5 separate regions of the Homo sapiens genome follow, and all the other regions are linked to region 1. The links are contacts of gene promoters, found by promoter capture Hi-C in blood cells and fetal thymus (Javierre and others, 2016). All regions are on one chromosome and are shown on one strand. The core of a region is centred on a gene start or on the middle of the fragment in contact, and the rest is flanking DNA. Distances in the headings are between cores, read along the strand shown.

Region 1 (2,772 bases), core at 158-2,657:
CCTTTCTCCTATTGCACTTCTCCCTGGTTTGTGTGTCTGCCTCACCCATGAGACTGTAGCCCGGCACCATGTCAGGCACGTAGCAGGATTTCAACAGAAGGATGTGGATCGAATGGATGATCCAACGGAAGGAGAGGCACACAGGAGGCTGACCACAAATGAAATTTCTGGTTTGGACTTTTCAGCCCCCATCACTTCACTTTCCCTCCTGCTATGGGGGAAACTCAAGAGATGAGTTATGGGTGGGCTAAGACAGCAAGCTGGGAGCTGGTGAAGAAGATGGAGTGGGTGACCCTTGGCTTTCACTGGGCTTCTCCCAGCCGATGCTTGGAAACCCTAGATGGATCAAGGTGAGAAGCCTCATTTCTGTAAAGGACTCCAAGGATTCCATGGTGCTCTGCAAACGTAATGTGTTCTTGTTGCTGTTATCATCTACCATAGCTGTTTATAACCTTGTTCATTAACTTGTGTGATTCTTGGCTGAAGTCTGCTGCTCTCCCCCATGAGGGGAACAACTGATGACCTACTTCTGTGAATTCCATGGTGCCAGGCCTGGGCTGATCTGGATCTACATTAAAACATGCCAGGGGGCAAACATGAAATCAAAATGTTCTGGCAACCCCCTTAGACCAATCAGTGCAGTGTTTAGCACTATAGACACCCAGTGCACTCATTACAACATCATTTCCTAGGACCTTTTTTATAAATAGAATTTCGAATATATTCAGGTTTGAACTTTCAAGGAGGGTGACTTTGAGCCATCACTTGGAACAGAACACTTGTAAAAACACTGACCTTGGTCACTGCTCACATCTCCCTGGAAGGCCAGTTAGGACTGCTGTTTACCCCCCACATTAGAGAGGTAGGGGAAGGAAACAGGGGAAGCTGAGTGACTTGCCTTTGGGCCACAGGAGTCGCTTCGTGGGCAAGGCTGGAGTTTTCGATCTGGGGAATTTGTTCCTGGTTGGGGGACTGGTCTATATTCAGGCTGTCAAGGAAGAAGTCATAGTATCCACACTCGCACTTCCCCCCAGAGCTAGGGGCTCTCTGGAGAGAAAGTGACCCCTTATCCTTTATTTGTAGAAATATCATGACCCAACAACGGCCTTCACAATGGGAAGAAGCTGGGTCGAAGCAGATGTCAGAAAGGCCAAGGGAATAGAGAGGCCGAGAAAGGGCGAGAGAAACAAAGAAGTCTATGTACTTGGCGCTTCTTTGTTGCCCAGATCCTCCACTCTGCTCCCTGCTTTCTCCCTCAGAGAAGGAGGGGGAAGAGGAGGAGGAGAGTGGGTGGAGAGGGAGGCGGAGGAGAAAGAGGAGGAGGAGCGCATTGCTAACGTGCGCAGCCCTTACCCAAGCCAGGCTCCCGCGCGTGCATCCACCGCGATCTCAGGCCCCGGCGTTTGTGGCAGCTCTCGGTTACCATGGGAACCGCACTCCGCAGCCTCCCTGGGCCCCATCTAATCTGCGTGTGTGCGTGGCGGAGAATTCTAAGCCTCTGCACCTGCCCTTGCCTTCCCTTTCCCAGCCTCTCTCCTGGCGGGGAACTGTTTGGACCAGTCGTCAGCGGCGGCCAGAAAGTTTTCCTGCTGTCTGCCTGAAGGTCGCCTGTGTCAGGGGGAAGTTGCAGCCGTGGGGATTGTGTTTCCCTGAATGGAGACAGTACACGTCAGACCTCCAGGCTGGGACTTTCTAGAATCCTGGGGTCCAGTGCTAAGCTTGTGGTGGCTGCGTAGATGAAGAGATGGGACATGTGGCTCTCAAGGCCCTGAATGGGCTCACTGGAGCTGGTCCCCAGGAAAGGAACTGCCCTGAAAGGGATAGAGAGACCCACAAGGGGTTGATCTGGGGCCAAGGGTTGGAGAAAGCTGAGTTCCCATGCCCTGGCCACTGTGAGTGGACTTGCAGGAGTGGCAGAATGGTCAGGTGGGGTGGGAGGCTGGGTTGCAAACCACTTCTATGTAGGCATTCCTGGTCAGTTGTCACAGAGGTTTCAGAAGGACCTCAGTCTTTGAAGTGCTTGCAATTTGCCCTTCCTTTTCTTTCCTTTTCTTTTTCTTCTCATTATACTTTAAGTTCTGGGATACATGTGCAGAACGTGCAGGTTTGTTACATAGGTATACACGTGCCATGGTGTTTTGCTGTACCCATCAGCTCGTCATCTACATTACGTATTTCTCCTAATGTAATCTCTCCCCTTGCCCCCCCGCCCCCGATAGGCCCCAGTGTGTGATGTTCCCCTCCCTGTGCCCATATGATCTCATTGTTCAACTCCCACTTATGAGTGAGAACATGTGGTGTTTGGTTCTCTGTTCCTGTGTTAGTTTGCTGAGAATGATGGTTTCCAGCTTCATCCATGTCCCTGCAAAGGACATGAACTCATTCTTTTTTATGGCTGCATAGTATTCCGTGGTGTATATGTGCCACATTTTCTTTATCCAGTCTATCATTGATGGGCATTTGGGTTGGTTCAAGTGTTTGCTGTTGTGGATAGTGCTGCAATAAACATACGTGTGCATGCGTCTTTACAGCAGCATGATTTATAATCCTTTGAGTATATGCGCAGTAATGGGATTGCTGGGTCAAATGGTATTTCTGGTTCTAGATCCTTTAGGAATTGCCACACCGTCTTCCACAATGGTTGAACTAACTTACACTCTCACCAACAGTGTAAAAGCATTCCTATTGCTCCACATCCTCTCCAACATCCATTGATTCCTGACTTTTTAATGATTGCCATTCTAACTGGCATGAGATGGTATCTCATTGTGG
Region 2 (2,772 bases), core at 96-2,595, 730 kb after region 1:
TTAACCTTATTAGTCAATGTCTATGATTTTAATGTTATTACTAGAATCACACTGTTCATTATTTCCCCCAGTTCGTTTAAATCTGCAAATACCTTATGTTCAGTTTTACATCTGTTAAAGCAAGATCCTCAAGGGCAGGGATGGAATTCTACTCACTTCTGCATCCCTTGACATTGCAGTGTGTGGAACAGAGATGACAAATACAGGTTCAATTTGTGCCACCTGAAAGAGTGCCATCTAGAAGCAGTTGCTTCAAACTGCACTTCAACGGGACCCACACGCCCTGCTAAGCAACTCAAACTCATCATGAAATAAATCTGCAGAAGAAATGTGTACTCTCTATTCAAACTCTGAAGTAAATAAAATGTGTATGATTGACACAATCACAAAATGGCATTTAAGTGGAAGTCTGCTTCCTGAAGAAATAAAAGCCAGAGCAAACAGATTTGGGGTCATATTTTTGTTCACTGAAAGGACCAACCAGTTTCATCAAACAAGCTTTAGAGAAAGAGAAACTGAGTAATTCATCTTGTCAGTTACAGTTCACATATATGCACACACATACAAACTGGCTCAGCATCAGTGAAACATAACTATTCAAATACAAAAGTATAAAAAACCTCTTTAAAAAACCAATAGCAGCCAAAACAGAACATTTGTAAACAAAACCACAACTATCAGCCCTGTGCTTAAACACAGAATCTGCATTCTTTTGAAACATTAAGTATATGCAATAAAGAGAATATAGACCATCTTTTTCCTTAATATACAATACCCAATATCTAAAACAATGTCACCAATAATAGACACAAATCGGTGTTATCATAAGGCATGTTGAACAGTCTTTTTCACAGTACTCAGGGGCATCATGTTGCTGCAGAGGCCACACTTTCCAGAAGTTTTCTCCTCGCTGTGATCCTCGCACACCGGGGGCACTCGGAGGACTGGAAGCACTGTTTGTGAAAGCAAGCCCTGCACGCTGCAAGCAAGGAAGAGAGCCGTTAGCAAACGGTCTATCTTGTTTTCTCACATTTCTGCAGACATTCGTCTCCATCCTAGGGAGGGAGAGGGGTCTGAATCCAGAGCCCAGAGTCTTCTAAAAAGAAACCAGCCAGGCTGAAACGCACGTTTCAGCAGGTCACATTTCAGCAGACCTGTTGGACTCTTCCAACAGGTCATGAACAGGAGGCTCAGAGAGCCTGATGTAACGGACACTGCAGTGCCCCCTGGATCTGCTCAAGCACTGAGGCAGGCGTTTCCCCAGCTGCCAAGAGAGGTGGTGGCTGATAACTCTTGGGAAGCCACATTGTTTCTCTAGATATGGCCCTACATCGAGAAAGCTGCTTTGTCCCCTTCCTGGCACCAGCCTGCATTCAATGACTGATCACTATATAGTGAGTAGGCCGGCCCCAATTTGTCCCCAGTTTGGAACAATGCTGAAAGGCCACCAAACTCCAGAGCTCCCCGTGAGATGAGCTGAGGGCTCCACTGCAACCCCACCACAGTTCAACTTCTCCCTCTCCCAGTCTTGCTGCCTGCACACCCCTACAGGTATTAAGTTGAAGAACATGAAACTTTTTGTAGGCAAGTCTCTGCCCCAGAGTCTCTTTGCTGGGGAGCCAGTCCTGCAACACTGCCTAAAGGGTTGGGGAGACAACACTGGAGTGGCCTGAGAGGAGGATATGCCCCTATCAAGGGTGAAGGCAGAGTTCATTACCAGGATCTCTCCCATTAAACAGAGTTTACAGAACACGGGATTCTCTCGGGCACTAATACCACAGAAGGGTCGGCAACCTTTTCTGTAAAGAGCCAGATAGCAAATGTTTTAGACCCTGAGGGCCATGTGGTCTCTACAACAGCTACTCAACTCTGCCTCCGTGGCACAAAAGCAGCCAGAGACTTCACCACTGGGCATGAATGATCCAATTACAAGACAGAGAGGTGGGCACAGGCAACAAAGGGACCATCTCCTCTATCCAAACCCTGCACCAGAAGACATTATCCTTTATCCCTGCCCCACCCAAATACTCCTCCTTCTGTGCCCAAAACTTCATTATCTCCAATCCAGCATACAAGCACACACCAGCATGACTGTACTTTAAATAACTGTGCTTAAATTATTAAGCTATTATTCAGCTTAAGTTAATTTTGTGCTTAAGTTACTAAACTTAGTTTAATTAGTTAACCTATTATTAAGCTTATGTTATTAAGTTATTAAATACCTGAACATCTTCTACATGTTGCTGTCTGAAATGGGAAGATGACAGTCGTATTCTGGCAAAATTCACAAATAAAGCCCTTTCCTTGACACAGCTGTAAAAGAAGACATCAAAAAGTTACAACCTTCTCTTGATGGATAAGCTGAGTTTTCACTATTACAGAACTTTATAAACATCAGTGTTTCAGTGTCTATGATTCCAGCCTCTAGAAGGAAAAGGATGTTGTTTTGCAGCAATGAATGGGTCAGAATCAAAAAAAAGATAAAAATGTACATTCAACCAATTCCATATCAAAGCAGTTTTAAAGTACCAGAGTAAGGTCCTAATTGTAAACATGCACTCTGAAATGATCTAATTTCATTTATCATTGCTGCACTACAATTCTTCAATCCGTGTAGACACAGAGCCTCCTGTTCCATTGAATCCTGGTTCCACATGACTATACTTGGTGCATCAGGGCAGAGTGGGCCCTGAGCAGAACTGGGCACCCAGATGAAGTCCATTGGTCCAGGCTTGCATCCCGGCTCTGCCACTTACCAGCAGGGGTATCTCA
Region 3 (2,772 bases), core at 90-2,589, 680 kb after region 1:
GCAGGCACATTGCATTCTCCCTCAGTCCCCGTGTGGCCCCTAGGCAATGTGTGAGTCCAGGAACTGGAGCTACCTGTCCCTTTTGAGGGAGTTCCTCCATGATTGCCCCTGAATGTGAGAAAGGCTGTTTCCTGACACCTGGAGCATGAGAAGAGTAAGAATCAGTCTACTCAATGTGCCACATCAGTTTTGGAATGTCTGACCCCCTTCACAACATTTCAGCAACAACACATGAATTTGTTTGATGACTGGGAAAATCTAAACAAGTTAAATTTTCCACTATGTTTCAAATAAAGAAAGCTGATGTTAGAAAATTCTGCAGAAGTCAGAGGTGTCTCCAGAATACTACTATGACTAGATTTCTTTTAAGCTGAAACTTCATGAGGCCAATTGGCATATTCCTCTGGAACTCAGACAAGCCATTTGCCATAATTATAAAAAGCTTAGTGAGAACCATGGGCTTACCTGAAACTGTACAAATAAGTCAGTTTGATTTTCTTCCTGTACTTTTCTCTAGCTCAATTGCATATAGCTTATGGGTTGTATTCTTTTTTTTTTTTTTTAACTAAAAAGAGATGCACACCAATTGTACTTTTTGATCCCTGGGTCACTCTTGCTTCTGTCAGACACTTTTAATTTAGGAGTGAGGTAATAAGATGTAAGCATTACCCAAGTAATTTATAGTAATGCAAAATTTGGCTCAACAAGCAGATCAATAGTCTCCGTAAGGCCTGGGCCAGCTACAGACAGTTTCACAAAGTCATTATCTAATTGGAAATATCTGCTGGGACACCAGATTTCCCACTGACATTAACTGGGCATTCTCTTAGCCCAGAAAGCATGATGATAGATTATCCTTGAAACGGCATTCTGACAAGGGCATTTCTCTGTAACATCAGGCATCACAGAACAAATTGCCTAATTGGAACTTTACAATTTTATTTTCCTTTTCTGTTTGGCAATACACCAAAAAGAGACTCGGAAATGATCTATGGTATTCCTTTTGTCAAAGCTCAAAGAACTCTTAACTGTTCTTGTATTTTGATTCCACCTGAATTCCTCTCATGATGATGCTACAGGTGTTTATCATCATCACTATTAGGTTTATCTCCTTGTCCCCCACTCTATACAGGGCAAATGGAATTACCGCTATTTGTAGTCTTCAGCGGACACAAGTGTAAAAGATGTCCTGTGTAAGACAAATAAGTTTAAAAGTATGAAAACAAGGCCAGCTGCAGTGGTTTAAGCCTGTAATCCCAGCATTCTGAGAGGCCAAAGCAGGGGAATTGCTTGACCAGGGGTTCGAAACCAGCCTGGGCAACAAAGCAAGACCCTGTCTCTACAAAAAATAATAATAAAAAAATAGCCAGGTATAGTGGTACAGGCCTGTGGTCCCAGCTACTTGGGAGGCTGAGGCAGGAGAATTGCTTGAGCCCAGGAGGTAGAGGCTGCAGTGAGCTGTGATTGTGCCACTGCACTCTAGCCTACATGACAGAGGGAGACCCTGGCTCTAAAAAAAAAAAAAAAAAAAAAAAAAGGGGAAAACAGTATTACCTTAAAAAGGTGACGGAATGCTGTTAAGCACTGTCCCAACTTGAGGGTCTAAATTTTGCTCATTTCACTAGGATTCCTGCCCCAAGCACAGGACAGGGAACTCTGAGAACACTAAGCTATGAGGGCCCCCTTTGGGTTTGTAGATATCTTGGGAAGTTGTCCACATGAGGAAGGCTGGGCAGAAGCATGCCTTGTGGCATTGCTTGGGGTCACTTTTGCTAGTCAGTCAACTGGTGAGGCAGAGGGCTGGGTGGAGCCGAGGTTCATGTATAGGGTGGAGGAGGAGAGGGAGATCTCCACATGCGTGAAGGCTGGGTGGTCAGCCACGAACACACTACTCAAGGCAGCTCCTGGGCGTGTGAGAGGGGGACCCTGCATTAGGCTTCCTATGAGTCTGCCCTTCCCAACACCCTGACCCACTCCTGCACTGCATGGACAGCCTCTTTCCCCATTCTGACAATTCCCTCTCACTCAGGTGTCAGAAAACTAGGTCTCCATCCCACAACCACTGGTGCATCTCCCTCCTCTCTATCCTATGGGTTCCATTGCATGCCCTTCTCACAGCTTTCCTAAACAGCTGTATTCTCTTTTCATTCACAATAGAGCTTGAGTTGCTCATCTACACCACAGCCCAATCATGGCTAGCCCAAAACAATCTGGACCCCCTTTCCTTAAGAACCAAGAAGCTTCCATTTTCAAAGCCCTTGAAAACTTTCAAATAGACTCAGATCCTAGTTCTACAAGAAAGCCCACTGTGAAGGCTGATAAGCCCACACTAACCACACAATTCCAGGTAACAGAGTCCACCCTAGAATGTTCCCTCAGAAGCACACTGTATGCCCCCAAAGCAATCCATAAAAATAACACGTGGAGTTTTCCTATATCAAAGATGTCCTTAACTGTTCTTATAACTCTGAACTAAATTGTGATCTCCAATTTACATAACTTTCAGACGTCTTAAGAGACCTATTCCAGAGCTTAATGGGAAGTGGGTGGGTGGAAAGCTCACAAGACAGCCAGAGCTCTTTTCAAATGGTTTTATGTTTGTTACCCACACAATGGGCAGGTATGATCACTTGGTGGGTGGCCATCCAATGACCACAACCAAGGAGGATTTAACAAGGGGATTTTATTACTTGCAACAAGTAAGGAAGACACCCGGGATAGTTCCCCAAAACAGTACCTTTCATAACAAAGGTGAAAACGGGGCTTTAATTG
Region 4 (2,772 bases), core at 140-2,639, 600 kb after region 1:
CAAGTGTGACAAAGCATTTTTTGAAAAAGCATTCAGAAGCCTTGCTTTCGACTACACAAAGCTAAGCATAAATTTTAAAGGCCAAACGTCAGTCAGTAAAACTGAATTCCTGTAGTTCTCATGGTTCCAACGATCTTGAAGAGCATAGGTACCTGACTCAATTTACACTGTCATTTTTTATGCTTAAAAATATAAACCTTTTTTCACATTTACAAAATATGCACGATATATATTACTTGAGACTAATCTTAGCCACAGAGCTGCCTTTTATTTTCAGCTTTGTATTTCTGAGAAACTAATGAATCTATGGTGTAGATAACAGCAAAAGTGGAAATAAATTCATAGTCTGGGGCAGCAGTATAATTGGGACACAGTAAACTTACAAGGAAAAGAAACAGTACACTACTACTGTAAAGGAAAACAAGTTGCATAATATTTTCCAGAGTCTGATTACTTTTTTGTTAAAACTTTTCTACTTTTTTCATTGATTGTTTTAAAACATGTTTGCTACTAAGGAGAAAAAGGAAGACATGGTTATGGTGTGAATCTTGAAAGATCCCCAAAGCTAGAAAGATTTATACAGAAGTCTCTCATTTTCCAACTTCTGTTATAAAGTTCCTGCGCTAGTACTTAGAAAAAACCAAACCTGGAAGGAAGCTCTACCTAGTTTACTTTCTGAGTTCGGATTTCCGCATCTATCAGATGAGCTCTTTCTAGTGCTCTTTCCCCCTCAAATCTCCAGAGAAACACGCACATTTTTGCAAACACACACGATGTATCTATGACTGCACACACAGGTTCATCAACACCATGACAGAGGCGACACGTCACAATATGATAACCAGAACAGAGGACGATGACAGTGAGAAATGGGTTTCTTTTATGGCCCGCTTGGATCCCTAATGCCCTTATTTCTACACAATCCAGCCTCAGCCAGGAACTTTAAAGGATCAGAAAGAGAAAACAGGTTGCATGAAAGGAAGAGAAAGAAAACCGAATGCCCGCTTTTCGAGAGCACTGCAAAATTAGCCCCGGGACCCGGCTGCACAAAAGTGCAGCCTTAAAGAATGCCAGCCCATATTCTAGACACCCAAGTAAAGCATCCTGTAATCGAGAGAAAATAATAAATAATAGTGGTCATTGCCATTAAGCATAAAAATAGTAATAACAATTGTCACCACGGCGTTCCGTACAGCAGCTGCGCGTGGAGCCGGCTTCTCCTCCGGCCCCCACGGCCCGCAGCTTCCCCTGCAGCCCCACAGTGCGTCGGAGGAAGGCGAGGGCTCCGCGCGCGCTGCACCGTGGGCTGGGCCTGCCCCTCCCGGCGCCCGCCTCGCCTCGCCTGTCCCGCGCCCGCCTCGCCTGTCCCGCCCCCGCGCCTGCGCGTCAAGTGGCTGGGCTGGCTTAGCGGACCCCGGTTGCTAGGGTGTGTCTCCTTGGCCTCCTAGAGGGTGGGGATCCGTGGTGCTTCTTCGGGAACAGCCTCCTGCAGGAAGACCCTCGCTGGACCTTTACCTCGCTGCCTAGATTCCGAGGAAAAGGAGATAGGAGACGAAAAGCCAGTTGGTTTGGAAAGCGGCCGATTATCCTAAAGGGTAGTGTGGGAGTCCAGCACTTCCATGCCCCTCTTTGGGTACTACGGAAGGGAGATTTCCAGCATCGTGTGGAACATATGACCAGGGAGTACACCTTGAGCGCTTGTGTGCAGTTATCTTTTGGCGGTAAACGGCCCATTTGTGCAGTTTCAGGGTGTTCCCTTCTAGGCTATCAATGGAATAATGCCGTGCCAGGCACTTTTGATGTTGCCCTGCAAACTAAAAGCACATTTTGGGGGTGCATCTTCTCGCATTATTTCTAAACAGTATGAGTTGGGATCCAGCAGCCCTGGGAAATCTCATTATAGTGAAACCCATCTTATTTTAGGATTGAATTGTTTTGGCCCAAGCATAGTGGTTGAAAAACAAGCCATTATAGAAAGAAAACAATTTGTTTGTGAATGGTTAGATATGGTGGGTCTTCAGAGGCTTATCTAATGAAGGCATCTTCTACACATTTCTGACCAAATTCTCTTTCTACATTTATAGCGATAACATTTTGGAGAGAGAGAAAAAAAATGTCATTTCGACTATTCTGAAAAATCAGTATTTACTAGTTGAAATAGCATTGGCAAATTGAACTTTGTACTAACATGGAAAATTGTAGAATGATCCTGGGTAGTAATAATACACATATTTTTAAAATTCTATGTTTACTTATAACCCTACATTTTAACTGGATTCTTTCTATTAATAGAAGTTTTAAAGAATTATTTTCTTACCCTCTTTTTTTTTCATAAAGGAATTCTGCCTGGATTCAGTAGAGTATTGGTACAGAATGATTTTCTTTAAGATGTAATCTAAATTCTTATTATTTTTCAACAATTCAAACATATTCAAAACCTTTTCAATTCTCATTTAAACCAAGGATTATGAAAAACAGCACTTATTATTCATTAAAATGCAAAAGCCCCCACTGCTTCTTCGAAGACCCTTACCTCCAAAATTCACTAAGCTGTCTTTACATGAGAAAAAAACCCATACAGGTATGTGTATTAATCAGATATGTGTATTAACATTTATGTATCTTTCATAGAAATTCCTTGACTTGCACAGCTCAGAATCACAATAAATACACTCACTAATAACTTACAAATGTTTGTTGTCAGGTGATAACATCCAATTCAATTCCACAGATGCATTTACTGATACTTATTGGTGGACTTAGTAGATTCAA
Region 5 (2,772 bases), core at 164-2,663, 530 kb after region 1:
ACCAATTTTCAGAAAACAAAACTTTAAATTAGGATGATTTCTTAATATGACCCTTTACTAGATAACGCTACACATTATGCATTTCATGAGCTTTACTTGTCATTTACTTTTACTCTACTTCTCATTAGGAATCAGTTGACTTCAACATGAACTCATTGGATTTAACTCCAGTGATATTAAATGAGGCACAGAAACGGGCAAAGAGACTTCTCAAGATCAGTATTAAAGTGGCGGCAAAACAGAAGTTTTATTATAACATTCAGACCCATGTGGGGTTATAGAGTCTACTAAATGATGAACATATATAGAATTGCCTAGCATGCTGGATGGTGTTTAATTACTATTGGTTTCTTTCTTTAATGTTGTATTTCCAGATTCAGTTTTCATCAATTATTATCCCAAACTGCTCACAGTTTTACCGTTTTAACAGGGCTTTAGGCAGAAATGCCCAGTCATGGAACTCCAGAATCAGGGCCACACAAGGTAATGGAACTGCCAACATGAAAATAGCATCATATTCTCCAAACACAACTGGGACCTGGCCTTACCCGCAGTCCTGACATGTCAATAACAACAGCAGGAACACCTTCTTCATCTCCTTTTGGAGCCACCTGCTCAAGCAGGTGGTAATAAGCTTTTGAGTCCTGTGAGAAATTAAGAAATTCCAATTTCAAAATAGCACAGCTAATTACATACTTAGCATAACAATGATTTCCCAAAAGCAAACATTTTATTTCATATTCAGCTATCATTCCAGAATGTAACTTAACAAAGCTAGAAACATTCACTAATTTGAATGTTCTATTTGTCTCTTTACATATCACATTTGCTTTTCTTTTTAAAAGGAGCGTAACAATAAAATAGACAAGATATACACAAAAGGCACCCTAAAGAAGTGGATATTATTCTGTTGTCTTTAGGGGAGAAAAACAACTTATTTACATGAATTAAATTGTATACAGGAAAATATATATATACCTTTATATTGCTGTAGAAGTCAGTCAGCTAAGGTTTAATTAAAAAAAAGTGACAGAAAAAGGAAGCACAAGTTTAAAGCGAGTTTAAAATACATTTAAATGGACAATCAGCAAGAGAAAAAGATGTCAAAGACAGAAGATTGAAGCATTAACAAGCAATCTTTACGTAAAAGGAGAAATATTAAGAAAAGTGCATTTCATATTTATCTAGAAGCTAGAAAAATGGTTCAATTTAGTTATAGCAGATTAGATACAGGTATTGAATTCTCAAGTTTTCTTAGATTCTGAAAATATGCTTATTGACAAAAAGAATTCTCAGAATTATAGTCTTAAAATATAAATTTATTCTTAGTCAATGAAAGCATACAGATTTTCAGGTAGTTTATTTAAATCATTTAATAGCATCTCAATTTCTCATAAAGATCGAAAAATCAGCTATTATTTTGTTTCTACAACTGGTTAGGGTAGGTAAGGCCTGGGCAGAGGAGAGGTATGCTCACCACTTTTGGCATTAGAAAGAGGAGAACCAGAGAGTGTGAATCATTGATGTTGCACCTGGGGAAAATGATCTTCATCTCCCTTCTATCTACCCTCCCTTCTCTGACTTTTCACTGTAGCTATTTTGAAGTCAGTGAAAGTCACATGCAGGTGTCAGGCACCAATACCATCTGCCTGCCCTGGGTTACATCTTTTTAGTTTGGCTAAGAGTAACCTCATTTCACCTGACTCTCATGAACCTTCTCACTCACTCTAGCCTGGGTGTTCTCCTCGCCTTTGCCAATTTACACGATTTAAAGACATCTCCCAAGGTTGCTGGCTGGCTACTCAGACATACACATGACAGCACGGAGTCAGTTGCCATGCAGCGGCTGCCAGAGAACAGGCACAACACTGTATAAGTAAGTGCTCATCTGGCCAGCTCCTATCTCATACAGACACTTCCCAAAGCACAAAATGGTGGTTCTAGAGAACACAGCCATTTAATGACAGGAAATTAGGTAAATTTACAGCTGAGATCTGACAGCCTAATTTTGTCTGAAAAGTTTTGCAATTGCAGAGCTTAACTGTTGAGCACAAAGGGAGAGCATGACAGCCAGCTCCTGTTAAAACCCAGGTCGGTTGGTGGTGCTAGAAGAATGTTAATAGCCCATGAAAGATGCATAGTTAGAAAGATGGATTTAGCTTAGATCCTAAAAAATGGGGGCTTTCCATCTAGAAGCTTGACTCTGACTGGCACAGTGCCTGACACACGCTGAGTTCTAAATGCCACTGAATGCACGTCATATAGCAGTGGGAAACTGTTACTCAAAGAATTACAAGCCTAGGTGTACTCCTGTTGAGTCATGTGAACTTTCCTCTGACTCTTTCTCTTTGGGGAAAAGTTATTTAATGTTTGAGAAAGTGGAGACTGAAGTATTTTCCTGGTGTTGCATCCCAGCATCTCCTACTCTTTCCTTCTAGGGACCGCTTTCCATTCCTTTCTGCTCCTTAACCACTTTCTATCTTCATCCATCTGTCATCATTGCCAATAGCTGTTTTCTTTCACCTTGACAGGGAACTTTTCATATACTTGAAAACCACAGTGTATTCCTGCCTCAGCCTTTCCCCTATGGACCTCTTTGTCTCTTTATCTGTAAAATGAGAGGATAATAACCCTTACCTCATGGGGTTGTTGTAAGGATTCAATAAGAGAATACACATATAAATCAGTTAGAACAGTGCCTGGCATGTTGCAGACACCATGTTTGCTGTTATTAGTATAACTAGAAGAGTCATCTTCATTTAATTTTTTACA

Evidence for each region. The method cuts DNA at HindIII sites, captures the fragments that hold promoters and counts their contacts. A CHiCAGO score of 5 or more calls a contact.
Region 2: a fragment that was not itself captured here is called in contact with the fragment with the promoter of ERICH6B in region 1 in 2 of 17 cell types (total CD4 T cells and total CD8 T cells); the score reaches 5.8 in total CD4 T cells.
Region 3: a contact is called between a fragment that was not itself captured here and the fragment with the promoter of ERICH6B in region 1, in 1 of 17 cell types (naive B cells). The highest score is 5.6, in naive B cells.
Region 4: the fragment with the promoter of LRRC63 here is called in contact with the fragment with the promoter of ERICH6B in region 1 in 5 of 17 cell types (endothelial precursors, fetal thymus, naive CD4 T cells and 2 more); the score reaches 13.5 in endothelial precursors.
Region 5: a contact is called between a fragment that was not itself captured here and the fragment with the promoter of ERICH6B in region 1, in 1 of 17 cell types (endothelial precursors). The highest score is 6.4, in endothelial precursors.

What each region holds. Positions count from the first base shown.
Region 1 is chr13:45,614,332-45,617,103 of GRCh38, forward strand. ERICH6B (glutamate rich 6B) reads right to left here and starts at 1,408. Exons shown (of 15, transcript NM_182542.3): 1 at 1,354-1,408. RefSeq lists an enhancer at 1,031-1,532. The HindIII fragment of the contact is 3,697 bases long and covers 1-1,716 here.
Region 2 is chr13:46,342,519-46,345,290 of GRCh38, forward strand. RUBCNL (rubicon like autophagy enhancer) reads right to left here. Exons shown (of 15, transcript NM_025113.5): 14 at 2,223-2,313; 15 at 1-979. The coding sequence ends at 867. Among named protein-coding and RNA genes, the nearest start is that of RUBCNL, 43 kb to the right of the region's middle. The HindIII fragment of the contact is 1,699 bases long and covers 497-2,195 here.
Region 3 is chr13:46,291,086-46,293,857 of GRCh38, forward strand. All of the region lies in intron 2 of LOC105370194 (a long non-coding RNA gene), which reads right to left. Among named protein-coding and RNA genes, the nearest start is that of LINC00563, 5.4 kb to the right of the region's middle. RefSeq lists an enhancer at 2,373-2,772. The HindIII fragment of the contact is 1,798 bases long and covers 441-2,238 here.
Region 4 is chr13:46,210,539-46,213,310 of GRCh38, forward strand. It overlaps LRRC63 (leucine rich repeat containing 63), which reads left to right and starts at 1,390. Exons shown (of 10, transcript NM_001282460.2): 1 at 1,390-1,721; 2 at 2,464-2,581. The coding sequence starts at 2,497. It overlaps LOC107984578 (a long non-coding RNA gene), which reads right to left and starts at 1,314. Exons shown (of 4, transcript XR_001749863.3): 1 at 1-1,314. RefSeq lists a silencer at 1,146-1,475. The HindIII fragment of the contact is 5,320 bases long and covers 1-2,772 here.
Region 5 is chr13:46,147,804-46,150,575 of GRCh38, forward strand. It overlaps LCP1 (lymphocyte cytosolic protein 1), which reads right to left. Exons shown (of 16, transcript NM_002298.5): 9 at 549-644. Among named protein-coding and RNA genes, the nearest start is that of LCP1, 33 kb to the right of the region's middle. RefSeq lists an enhancer at 2,193-2,772. The HindIII fragment of the contact is 1,562 bases long and covers 633-2,194 here.